Linked DNA regions of Homo sapiens: region 1 is linked to region 2. Evidence: promoter capture Hi-C in 16 types of primary human blood cells and fetal thymus (Javierre and others, 2016). All regions are on one chromosome and are shown on one strand. Each heading gives the region's core, a stretch centred on a gene start or on the middle of the fragment in contact. The rest is flanking DNA. Distances are from core to core; before and after follow the strand shown.

Region 1 (6,337 bases), core at 669-3,168, 400 kb before region 2:
CCTACCATAGTCTCCTAAAGTGTTGGGATTACAAGCATAAGCCACCACACCTAGCCTATTTGCTTCTCTTCTCTTGCTGGTTTAATGACCTTTTCTTTGTCCTTGACCTTTGAGAATTTGATTATTATATGCCGTGGAGTAGTCTTATTTCATTAAATTTAATTGGGAACTTTTTACCTTTCCATACCTCAATATTTATATCTTTCTCTAGGTTTGGAAAGTTCCCTGTTATTATTGCTTTGAATAAACTTTCTACTCCCCTCCGTTCTCATTCTGCACTCCCTCTTGAATGCCAGTGACTCGTACATTTGTTTTTTTTGTTTTGTTTGTTTTTTTTTTTTTTAGATGGAGTCTTGCACTGTTCACCCAGGCTGGAGTGCAGTGGCACAATCCCTGCCCACTGCAGCCTCCGCCTCCAGGGTTCAAGCAATTCTCCTGCCTCAGCCTCCCAAGTAGCTGAGATTATAGGCGCCAGCCACCATGCCTGGCTGATTTTTTTTTTTTTTTTGTATTTTTAGTAGAGACAGGGTTTCACCATGTTGGTCACGCTGGTCTTGAACTCCTGACCTCATGATCCACCCACCTCGGCCTCCCAAAATACTAGGATTACAGGCGTGGGCCACCGCGCCTGGCCACATTTGTTCTTTTGACACTATCACACAGATTCTTTAAGCTTTCTTTTGTTCTTTTTCATTCTTTTTTTCTTTCCTCCTCTGTATTTTCAAATATCCTGTCTTTGAGCTCACAGATTTATTCTTCTGCTTTATAATTTCTGCTGTCAAGACAGCATTTTAATGCATTTTTGTTTGTTCAGTGTATTTCACCTCCAGGATTTCTGTTTGATTTTTAAAAGATTATTATTATTATTTACTTATTTATTTATTTTGAGATGGAGTTTCACTCTTGTTGCCCAGGCTGGAGTGCAGTGGCGTGATCTTGGCTCACGGCAACCTCCGCCTCCCGGGTTCAAGCGATTCTCCTGCCTCAGCCTCCCGAGTAGCTGGGATTACAGGCACCTGACACAGCGCCCGGCTAATTTTTTTTGTATTTTTAGTAGAGATGGGGTTTTACCATGTTGGTCAGGCTGGTCTCGAACTCCTGACCTCAGGTGATCTGCCTGCCTCGGCCTCCCAAAGTGCTGGGATTACAGGCATGAGCTACCACGCCTGGCCAAGATTATTTTAATCTCTTTGTAAAGTTTCTCTCATAGATTTCTGAATTATTTCTCTGTGTTTTCTTGAAGTTTATTGGGCTACCTCAAAACAACTATTTTGAATTCCCTGTCTTAGATTATACTTCTCAATCTCTTCAGGATGGATCACTGGCACCTTATTTAGTTGGTTTGGTGAGGTCATAGTTCCCTTAATGTTCTTGATGCTTTCCAATGTGTGTCAATATCTGGGCATTGAAGAAATTGATATATATTCCAATTTTTGCAATCTGGCCTTGTTTGTACCTGTCTTTCAGAGAGCCTTCCAGGAATTCAAAGGAGCCTGACTGTTGAGTTCCCTAAGCCTGTGGTCACTGTAGCCATCTTAGCGCTAGAGGGCACTGTAAGCCTATGTAGCTGGGACTCTGTTACAGACTCCAATGTCCCTGGCCCCGATGGACCTGAGTAAGACCCAGGGAGAGTTCCCCACCTCGTGTGGTAATGCTGGCCAGGGCCCTGAACCAGGTGCTGGTTTTGTTGTTGTGGGCTTGGTACTGGGTTCCAAGGAAAAGTTTCATGCATAATTCGGTCTCCTTCCCTAAAGTAGATGGTGTCTTTCTCTGTACCATGTTGCCTACAGTTGGAGGGAAAGGTGATGTGGGCAGTCCTGTGGCTGCCACAGCTGATGCTATGCAGGGCTACACCTGAAGCCTATGGCCTCTTGGACCAGGGTGGAAATGGGTCATGCCCAAGGCCCAGGCTGCTACCATGCTGAAATTTATTTGGGGCCCAGTGATGTGAGAATCCCATTCATCCTGATGGGGTGGGGAATTCCTTTCTGGTGCTTAGTGTGGGTCCACAATCTTTGTCCGTGGGCACAGGCCTGGAATTAGGCTGTGGGGTTTTTTCTGGTTCTGTGTATTACTGTGGCAGACTTAGTACTGGGCTCTAAGGCAAAGTCCCATGTCCACTAACCTCTCCTTCTGCCATGTGGGCGGTGTCTCTCATCACTACCTAGGGTTGGGGAAGGGTTGGTACAGATAATATGAGACTGTCCTTCCTATTATCTTTAATGCATCTTCTTCTCCTTGTAAAATCTAGTACTTTTATCTATCAACTGGTTTTCCTAGCTCTAGCGAAGATATTTTCTTTTGTGGATTGTTGTTCAAATTGATGTTTCTGTGGGGAACTATCACTGACGGGTCCTATTCTGCCATCTTGTTGTGCCTCTGTGTTACTGATCTGTTGTTTGTTTATTTTTTTGAGATGGAGTCTTGCTCTGTCACTCAGACTGGAGTGCTGTGGCGCCATCTTGACTCACTGCAACCTCCGCCTCCCAGGTTCAAGCGATTCTTCCTGGCTCAGCACTCCGAGTACCTGGGACTACAGGCATGCATCACCCTCCATGCCTGGCTAATTTTTCTTGTATTTTTAATAGAGATGGGGTTTTCAGTGTTGGCTAGGCTGGTCTCAAACTCTTGACCTCAGGTGATTTGCCCACCTCAGCTGAACAAAGTGCTGGGATTACAGGCATGAGCTACTGCACCCAGCCTGTTGTTTGTTTGTTTATTTTTTATTTTTTGAGATGGAGTCTCACTCTCTCACTCGGGCTGGAGTGCAGGGGCGTGATCTCAGCTTACTGCAACCTCCACCTCCTGGGTTCAAGCGATTCTCTTGTCTCAGCCTGCTGAGTAGCTGGGATTACAGGCGCCTGCCCCCACGCCTGGCTAATTTTTGTGTTTTTAGTAGAGATGGGGTTTCACCATGTTGGCCAGGCTTTTCTCAAACTCCTAACCTCGAGTGATCTGCCTACCTCAGCCTCCCAAAGTGCTGGGATTACAGGCGTGAGCCACCGCACCCGTCCTGTTGTTTATTTTTTATATGAAATTTAGGATCACCTTGTCTAGTTCAATTGCAAGAACTTGTTACTATTTTTAATAGGATCATGTGGATTGACTTAGGGAGAAACCACGTCTTATGCTATAGAACTTTCTAACCAAAAATGTACTAGGTTCAAGCTTTCTTTTTATGTTTTTAAAGTTTTCTTCATATGTCTCTCACATTTCTTGTCAGATTTATTTCTAAGTATTTTAAGTTTTTTGTTACTCTTGTAAATAGGTTTTTTCGTTCCTTTATATCTTCTGATTATTTTGTGTGTATTAAAGCTATAGATTTCTGTGAATTAATTTTGCATCTATTTTTTTGGTTGATTCTCTAGACCTGCACTACTAATTTAGTAGCTGCTAATACATGTACCTATCTTAATTTTTTTTTTTTTTTGAGACAGTGTCTTGCTCTGTTGCCCAGGCTGGAGTGCAGTGGCATGATCTCGGCTCACTGCAACCTTCGCCTCAATCTTTAAGCGATTCTCCTGCCTCAGCCTCCCGAAGAGCTGGGATTACAGGCGCCTGCCACCATGCCTGGCTAATTTTTGTATTTTTAGTAGAGATTGGGTTTCACCATGCTGGCCAGGCTCGTCTCGAACCCCTGACCTCAGGTGATCCACCCATCTCGGCCTCCCAAAATGCTGAGATTACAGGCGTGAGCCACCACACCTGGCTTTTTTATAGCTTTTGAGCTGAGATAGATATATTTTTGCAATACTAAGGAAATATCCAACTATTCCTACTTTATAGCATATTCTTATCCAGAATGGGTATTTCAGAGTCTTTGGAGATGATTTCATTCATTCATCCATCCATCTATCTATTTTGGGGCTAATATTGAACTATTCTTGCATTCCTGGAATAAATCCTATAATATATATTTATGATTCTGATATACTATTCTTTTAATGTGTTGGAGTCCAGTTATATTTTAGAATTTTGCATCCATATTTGAATTTTTCTGTGGTTTTTGCTTTCACAATATATTCCTTAGGTTTTGTTATTACTTTATACTCCTTTAATAGGAAAGAAAGGTGGTAGTTTTCTTTTTCAAGGTTTATGAATAGTTAAAAAAGTAATAAAAACTTTATACTTATTAAGTTGGCAAAATTTAGGAAGCCAGATGATGCCAGATTTTGGCAGGACTTTGAGGATATTGGAACCATTACAGGTTCCTATGACTCAGCAATGTTTGCATAGGTTATGAGAGAACATGTAAGGAATTGTTTATTAAGGCATTATTTGAAGTGGCAATGAGTTGGAGGACATTCGCAAATCCATCACTGAGAAGAGTGGATAGGTAAAATGTGGTAGTTGCACACATGAAATATTAATACTATGCAAGACTCGAAATCAGCAGATTAAACACCTAGGCAGAATACTGAGTGAAAAACTTTTTTTTTTTTTTTTTTTGAGACAGAGTCTTGCTGTGTCGCCAAGGCTGGAGTGCAGTGGCACGATCTCGGCTCACTCCAGCCTCCGACTCCTGGGCTCAAGAAATTCTCCTGCCTCAGCCTCCCCAGTAGCTGGGACTACAGGTGCCTGCCACCATGCCCAGCTTATTTTTTTGTATTTTTAGTGGAGACGGACTTTTACTATGTTGACCAGGCTGGTCTTGAACTCCTGACCTCATGATCCGCCCATAAGATGAGATATATTACTATTTGTGAATTAAACAACATATACAGTATATAAATACAACATACACAACAATCACTTTTTGCAAGAACACATACAAACAAAAAGATACACTCTAAGCACATCAGAATGATTTGGATGGGAGTGTGAAATGGGGATGAAAAGTAAAAAAATTTGAGAGCCAGACACGGTGGCTCACATCTGTAATCTCAGCACTTTGGGAGGCTGAGGCAGGAGGATTGCTTGAGCCCAGGAGTTTGAGTCCAGACAGGGCAACATAGAAAAAAAAAAAAAAGCCAGGGTGGTGCTGCACACCTGTAGTCCTAGCTACTCAGGAGGCTGTGGTGGGAGGATTGCTTGAGCCTGGGAAGTCGAGGCTGTGGTGAGCTGTGACCATGCTGCTGCACTCCAGCCTGGGTGACACAGCAAGACCCTGTTTCAAAAAAAAAAAATTTCTTTTGAATCATCTTTTAAAGTTTGATATAATAATCCTTTTAAATTGACAAGGCTTGGTGTTTCAGTAGGGGATTAGTTATTTGAAAAACTTCTTCAATGGAAGATGGTCTGTTAAGATCAGGGGTTAGCAAACTATGGCCCTTTGGCCAGATCTGGCCTGCTTCCTGTTTTTGTAAATAAAGTTTTACCGGAATACAGTCATGCCCATTCATGTACATGTCTTCTATGGTTGTGTTCCCACTACAGTGGCAGAGAGTTGAGTAGCTGCAGCTACTCAAATGGCCCACAAAGCCTTAAATATTCAGTATCTAGCTCCCCACAGAAAAAGTTTTGCCAGCCTTTGGTTTAGATATTTCATCTCTCCTGGAGCCCCTTTTGATTCTAACTTATTCATTTCTGTGTATGTTGTTATCAGTTTCTTTTTCCTATTGTGATAGTTTCTCAGTCTTTTCTTGCTTCGTGGTTAGTAATTTTTTGGAATGTATTTATCTGCTGTTTCTTGCTTTTTTTCTTTTTTTTTTCATGTAAGACAGGTAATGTGCTGACGTAACAAGGTTTGAGAGAGGCACTTCTGAGACATGTATGTGAAAACCCGATCGTCATGCTTACGAACTACAAAAGGATCGTGTCTGTGGTTTTCTTATGGTTGGATTGAAGTTATGCGTTTTTGGCAAAAAAAATACCATAGAAGTGATTTGCCCTTCTGAAGGTTGACAGATTAGGCAAAGAAAAATACAGGATGCTAGTTAAATTCAAATTTTAGACAACAAATAGTTTTATAGTATAAGTATGTCTCATGCAATACCTTATTCTCGGTGCATTGTATCAGAGGTTACCGGATACCGACATGTCCTGTTTCTGGTGATGTGAACTTTGATGTTAAGGTGGTGGTTGGGGGTCTCTCCACTGAATGTTGCTATATTGTCCTTTATGATTAATGAACATGGCTGAATGTGGTGGCTGACGCCTGTAATCCCAGTGCTTTGGAAAGCTGAGGCAGGAGGATCACTTGAGTCCAGTATTTTGAGATCAGCCTAGGCAACATAGTGATACGCCATCTCTACACACACACACACAAAAGCTATGTTGGTGGTGCATGCCTGTGGTCCCAGCTACTTGGGAGGCTGAGGTGGGAGGATCGCTTGAGCCTGGAGGGGAATGGAGGCTGCAGTGAGCCATGATTACATCATTGGCCTTGGACAGAGGG
Region 2 (7,328 bases), core at 762-3,261:
TCATTTACTGACATTACTCTACCTTGAATTAAAATTATTTGGGCCCTTATATTACCTGTGTCACCAGACTGTGAGTTCCTTGAGGCTATATTACACAATCTACCTACTACTTTGCAAAACCCAAAGCCCTGCCCAACAAAATCTAATAATATTTCCTGAGGTAAAGAGTTGCCACATAAATTCTAGCTCAATTCCTGTATCATTATCTCCAATTCCAAATTAGTGACGTCCAGAATGATGGGGTTTTATTGTATTATCTGGAAAAAATTAATGTATCAAAGCTTTAAATAAATATTAGTCTTCAGATACAAAACTATAACAATTCTTCTGACCACAGCAGTTTCCCCACTCCTTCTAACAAGCAAAACTCACAAACTACCATTAAAATGTTTCAGTTGCTTTTAAATTTGTCCTACCTCCTCATTCCTTATCATCTCAAATAAGATGCTTCCTCCTTCAGGAACAGTAGTGAAGTGAATTTGAACTGCTATTTGGGGTGGAGGAAAACGGCAAGCACTGACATAGTCAGTGGCCAAATCCTTTTTCCAACTCCCTCCCTACCTTGTTCCTACCTCCTAGACAGTCTCTTCAGTCCCTGGAGTTGACTCATGCCGTAGCTCCCTCTGTAGTTCCCTCTGTTCTCGCATAAAACAATGTTCAATTGTATGCAGGGTTAAAAAAAAAAACAAAAAACCTTCAAGAATGCTTTTAATCTGTAATCCCAGCACTTTGGGATGCCGAGGCAGGTGGATCACCTGAGGTCAGGAGTTCGAGATCAGCCTGGCCAACATGGTGAAACCCCGTCTCTAATAAAAATAAAAATAAAAAAAATTAGGCAAGCATGGTGGCAGGCACCTGTAATCCCAGCTACTCAAGAGGCTGAGGCAGGAGAATTCCTGAACTCGGGAATTTGCAGTTCAATTCCTGAACTCGGAAGGTTGCAGTGAGCCGAGATTACACCACTGCACTTCAGCCTGGGCAACAAGAGCAAAACTCTGCCTCAAAAAATAAATAAAATAAAATAATGTTTTTATTAAACTACAAGCCAAAGAAACTTCAGAAAAAATGTGTATATCCCAAATCTCTAAATGCTGCTATTTAGAAAGACAAACTAATAAAACATCATGCGGTGACAGATATTTGAATATTTTCTACATATCTCCACACTAGATGCCCTGGGCATCCAGAACATTCCCTAACATTGCCCCCTACTCTTATCTTCCTCGGCAGCTTTCTCCCTGTAGCTAGTGACTCAAATTTGTTCACTATCTGTGCCTTCCCATTCTTTCAAAATGCAAGAGCAAAGTATAGATTCCGACATCAATTAATGGTATTGCTCTGGCTTGAAATGTTTGGGAGTCCTTTCTTCACCTTTAAAAAGTAGCGACAGATGATGGGTTTCTCCACTGAGGGTTAGGCCTGGGGTTCCCAAGATGCTATACGCAAGGACAATTACTACACCTCACATCTAGACATGACTTGACAGTAGCAGCACTACCTACCAATATCAGGTCCCGGCCAGCAGGCTATGCAATAAAATACCAGGTGCTGCGTTCCCATCATCAAGAGTAAAGGGTTAGTACTGCTTCTATACGAAAATGGCTCTTGCTCCAACCCCGCCTCGGCCCCCACATCAAACCGTCTAATAACATCACTGGTTCTTTCTACTTCAGAATAGAGACATGCACACTTGAGATCATCAAGAATAATACATAACAAAGTCATTATATTCCGTAGACTTGGCTGGCAGAAATGTGGGTTGCGACTAACTTTTTATTCGGTGGCTTCCTTCCAGATCAATCCAGATAACTCCCCCTCCCCAGAGCCGCCATAAGGGGTGAAGCCCCACATCCTCCTAAGCGCAGTAGGGAGGGACCGGGGGGAGGACAAAAGAGACTTGCCTATAGGGACTTACAGATGCCAGACGCTGAGGGGTCTGGGGTAACTCCGCGCTGATTTCCATCCTCTCAGTACCTCCAGCCTCCTCGTCCGCCATCTTGAGGGAAACTGACGCCTGCAGTTGCCGACCCCCGGCCAGAGGCAAGCGGAAACCTGTGGCCGGTCGGAGAGACAGGGACGACACTTTTACGACGGCCCCTGAAGTCGGGTTTGACGCAGACTCGAGGAGTGGCTTCCGGCCCGCTTCCCGGAAGCAAGCGTCACGACGTGAAGGGACTGGAGATTTTTTTTTTCCCCTCTAATTTATCAGGCGTAGCTCTTGGTAGCTGAATGGTTGTATATCTGGGTTTGGTGCTGGGAACTGTTGCATCTACGAGGTAAAAAAAACAAAGTCAGCGTCCATTATGAAAGGAAGAAAACTTGTCGGGGGCTAAAGCAAGAACCTGTCCTAGCTGGCCGGTTGTTGGCCTGGGGATGTTTTGTATCCCAACCTCCCTGCAGTAGTTCCCCAGAGCCTACAAAATGAAAAAGAAAGTACTCACACATCTTCTATTTTTAGGATTCTACCCCGTGGGCACTTGCACATGTGTACAAAAAAAGCTCGGGATCCAGCTTTATTGGGGGACACGGGGGGAAATAACAAAAAATTGGAAACCTAGTCATTCATCGATAGAGGAAAGACAAGATATACTATGGTACATTCGCATTTTGAAATACTGTGCAGCTCTTGAGCAAGATAAATCTGCGTGAAAAGATCAAGATAAATTGAGAGAAAAAAAAGCCAAGTTGCTGCAAACTATATATTTGCACACATAGGCATTTAAATGTGAAGGAGTAAGTCTGAAAGGGGAAAGGGCAAAGTAGTAACTCTGAGGGCCAGGATTCGGATTGGAGGAAGAAGGTGGTCAAGAGCTACTTTACCTTCATTTGTATTTTAAATTTTTTACAAAACAAATAATTTTAAAGTATATTTTTAACAAAGGGAAGAAAATAAAGCTCCAAACAATGTGAAAAGTAGAGGAGGCTTTCCAAATGCTGTGGTCCACCTTGATTTATAGAACTTTCCTGCCTAAACAATGTTTCTGCTCAAATGAACTACTTCCTGGGTGCTAAAATACTGTTTTTCCAGCCTTTTTTGCCCAACAACCACAATAAATACATTTTACATCTTATCACGGTACACCTATACAAAATTAAATGGGTATATATAGAATATGTATATATATACTGAAACTTAAATTTTCTGAAACAATACTTCCAATATGTCATATTTTCTATTCAATTGCAATATGTTTATGCATTTAAGCCAAAATACTGGTTGTAGTTATTAAAGTGATACTATAACCCACAATAGGTATTGTCCCACATTTTGATAAAAATTGCCCTAAAAGTTACCTTGTCCCTTCCTGTCTCTATGCTTTTACTTCTGTAGTTCTCTTATGCTACCCCACGCTCTTCTCTTTTTCTTCTTTCATTCCTAGATAAATGAAATAGACTAGAACGTTCAGAAATAGGTCGGGGCAGTGGCTCACGCCTGTAATCCCAGCACTTTGGGAGGCCAAGGTGAGTGGATCACCTGAGGTCAGGAGTTCGAGACCAGCCTGGACAACACAGTGAAACCCCATGTCTATTAAAGATACAAAAATTAGCTGGGTGTGGTGGCAGGTGCCTGTAATCCCAGCTACTCAGGAGGCTGAGGCAGGAAAATTGCTTGAACCCAGGAGGTAGAGTTTGCAGTGAGCCAAGATCATGCCACTGGCACTCCAGCCTGGGCTACAAGAGCAAAACTCTGTCTCAAAAAAAAAAAAAAAGAAAAAGAAAAAACAGAAAATAAAAAGAAATAATAGCCACTTATCAACATCTTAATGTAATCAAAGCACTAGTATATTAATAACACTAGCTATATATTAATAACAATCCTTTAGGTAGATGTTACTACTTCTATTTTACTGTCATGAGAAACTGAGAAAACTGAAGTTTAGAGAAGTTACATAATTTGGTTAGGGACATGCAGCTTCCAAGTGACACAGCAGATATTCAGCCAGCACAATGGCTCACCCCTGTAATGTTAGCACTTTGGGAGGCCAAGGCGGGAGGATTACTTGAGCCCAGGAGTTTGAGATGGGCAACATAGCAAGACTCCCACCTCTACCAAAAAATAATAATAAATAAAATCCAGTTCAAATGACTCACAAGGCCCTATTCTTATCCATTTCACTTTATTACTTTATACCAAATTCAAGTATTTTACACATGAAAGATAACAGCATTTCAAGTGAGAAGGAAATTATGAACTGCTTATTTATTTATTTTTTCAGATGGAGTTTCGCTCTTGTTACCCAGGCTGGAGTGCAGTGGCGTGATCTCAGCTCACCACAACCTCCGCCTCCCGGGTTCAAGCAATTCCCCTGCTTCAGCCTCCCAAGTAGCTGGGATTACAGGCATGCACCACAATGCCTGGCTAATTTTGTATTTTTAGTAGACACGATGTCTCTCCATGTTGGTCAGGCTGGTCTCAAACTCCCGACCTCAGGTAATCCGCCCGCCTCGGCCTCCCAAAGTGCTGGGATTATAGGTGTGAGCCACCACGCCCAGCCGGACTGTTTATTAAGTGGTGCAAAAACAGATGGTTATGTAGCAGTTCCTCAAAAAACAAAATTAGACATAGAATTCCCATGTGATCCAGCAATTCCACTTCTGGGTATATATCCAAAAGAAGTGAAAGCAGGGTCTTGAACAGATGTTTGTATACCTGTGTTCATTGAAGCATTATTCAGTATAGTCAAATGGTGGCAGGAACCCAAGTGTCCATCAACAGCTGAGTGGATAAACAAAATGTGGCATATACATGCAATGGAATATTATTCAGCCTTTAAAGGGAAGGAAACTGTGACACATGCCACAGCATGGATGAACCTTACAGACATTAGGCTAAATAAAAGAAGCCAGTCACAAAAAGACAAATACTGTGTAATTTGACTTATAATACATACCTAGAGTAGTCAAATTCATAGACACAGAAAGTAGAATGGTGGTTTCCAGGGTCTGAGAGGAGGAGAGAATCGAGTTTAATGGATACGGAGTTTCATTTTGGAAAGATGAAAAAGTTTTGGAGATGTGTAGTGGTAATGGTTGCATAACAATATGAATATATCTAATGCCACTGAATGGTATACTTAAAAGTGGTTAAAATGGTAAATTTTACGTATATTTTACCACAATAAAAAAATTTAAAGAGGCCGGGCGTGGTGGCTCAAGCCTGTAATCCCAGCACTTTGGGAGGTCAAGGCCAGCGGATCACTGGAGGTCAGGAGTTCGAAACCAAGCTAGCCAACATGGTGAAACCCCATCGCTACTAAAAATACAAAAATTAGCCGGGCATGGTGGTGCATGCCTGTAATCCCAGCTACTCGGGAAACTGAGGTAGGAGAATCGCTTGAATCCGGGAGGCGGAGGTTGTGTTGAGCCGAGATCGCGCCACTGCACTCCAGCCTGGGTGACAGTGCGAGACTCTGTCTCAAAAAAAAAAAAAGAAACATTTAAAGAATAAGTAACCATCTGGGAAAAGATGGTCAGATCCTTACCTCAAATCATACCCCAAAATAATTCTTTTTTTTTTTTTTTTTGAGACGGAGTGTTGCTCTGTCACCCAGGCTGGAGTGCAGTGGTGCAATCTCGGCTCACTGCAACCTCCGCCTCCCGGGTTCAAGTGATTCTCCTGCCTCAGCCTCCTGAGTAGCTAGGATTACAGGTGCATGCCACCACGCCCGGCTAATTTTTTATATTTTTAGTAGAGACAGGGTTTCACCATGTTAGCCAGGATGGTCTCGATCTCCTGACCTCGTGATCCGCCTGCTTCGGCCTCCCAAAGTGCTGGGATTACAGTCATGAGCCACCGCGCCCGGCCCTCAGAATAATTATTAACAGATTAAAGAGTTAACTGCTAAAAAGAGTAAATAAGTAAAAATTATTATTATTTTTTTGGAGACAGGGTCTTGCTTTGTTACTCAGGCTGGAGTGCAGTGGCATGGTCTTGGCTCACTTCAACTCTACCTCCAGGACTCAAGCGATCCTCCCACCTCAGCCTCCCAAGCAGCTGAGACCACTGGCATGCACCACCATGCCTGGCTAATTTTTGTATTTTTTTGTAGAGACAGGGTTTCTCCATGTTGCCCAAGCTGATCTCGAACTCTTGGGCTCAAGTGATCCACCCACCTTTGCCTCCCAAAGTGCTAGAATTACAGGCATGAGCCACTGAGCCCTGCCCAAAGTAAATATTTTTTTAATATTGCATTGGAGAAGTCTTTTTTAAGCATGTTGCTAAAGGCAAAAAATATAAACATAAAAATACTTATATGTAATTTTATTAAAATTAAAAACATAAAAATAAATGACATAAAATTTAAAAGGTAAACAAAAACTAGGGAAAAATGTCTGCAGTAGACATGGCAGATCAAAGGATAAAATCCCAAAGTGGCCAGGCACCATGGCACATGCTTGTAATCCCAATACTTTGGGAGGCCGAGGAGGGTGAATCACTTGAGCCCAAGAGTTCCAGACCAGCCTGGGCAACATGGCAAAACCCTGTCTCTGCAAAAAATACAAAAATTAGCTGGGCGTGGTGGCATGTGCCTATAGTCCCAGCTACTCAGGAGGCTGAGATGGGAGGATAACTGGTGCCCAGAAGGCAGAGGTTGCAGTGAGCCAAGATCAGGCCACTGCACTCCAGCCTCAGCAACAGAGTGAGATCCTGTCTCAAAAAAAACAAAAAAAAAAATCCTAAAGACGACTATTCCAAAAGAAAAATGGATGAAAGACATAAATGTGCAACTTACTAATTTTTATTAATTTGTGAAAAAGACCTAACTAGTAAGCAAATAAATGCAAAATAAGTAAAAATTGGATATGATTTATTGTCCGTAAATTTGGCAAGGTTTTTTTTTTTTTTTTGGAAGATAATCAGTGTTGGTAAGAAGCTGGAAGGACAACCATATTATTAAGTAAAATGCAAATGTAAATTGGTAAACCTCTTGGAAGGTGGTGTGGCAATATTCAGAAGCCTTTTTTAAAAAATGTATACTATTTGGACCAGGCACGGTGGCTCACGCCTGTAATCCCAGCACTTTGGGAGGCCAGGGCGGGTGGATCACGAAGTCAGGAGTTCAAGATCAGCCTGGCCAAGTTGGTGAAAACCCGTCTCTACTAAAAATACAAAACATTAGCTGGGCATGGTGGTGGGTGCCTGTAATCCCAGCTACTTGGGAGGCTGAGGCAGAGAATTGCTGGAACCCGGGAGGTGGAGGTTGCAGTGAGCCAAGATCGCGCCACTGCACTCCAGCCTGGGTGACAGAGCGAAACTGCATCTCAAAAAAAAAAAAAAAAAAAAAAAAGGCATACTATTTGACCAGTGATTCCATTTTTAACACTTT

What was found. The method cuts DNA at HindIII sites, captures the fragments that hold promoters and counts their contacts. A CHiCAGO score of 5 or more calls a contact.
Region 1: a contact is called between a fragment that was not itself captured here and the fragment with the promoter of UBR1 in region 2, in 1 of 17 cell types (fetal thymus). The highest score is 5.6, in fetal thymus.

Annotation. Positions count from the first base shown.
Region 1 is chr15:42,703,039-42,709,375 of GRCh38, forward strand. All of the region lies in intron 26 of STARD9 (StAR related lipid transfer domain containing 9), which reads left to right. LOC124903605 (small nucleolar RNA U13) reads right to left here and starts at 5,754; the gene lies at 5,654-5,754. The HindIII fragment of the contact is 2,495 bases long and covers 672-3,166 here.
Region 2 is chr15:43,104,027-43,111,354 of GRCh38, forward strand. UBR1 (ubiquitin protein ligase E3 component n-recognin 1) reads right to left here and starts at 2,012. Exons shown (of 47, transcript NM_174916.3): 1 at 1,916-2,012. The coding sequence starts at 1,996. RefSeq lists an enhancer at 1,831-2,110. The HindIII fragment of the contact is 7,548 bases long and covers 280-7,328 here.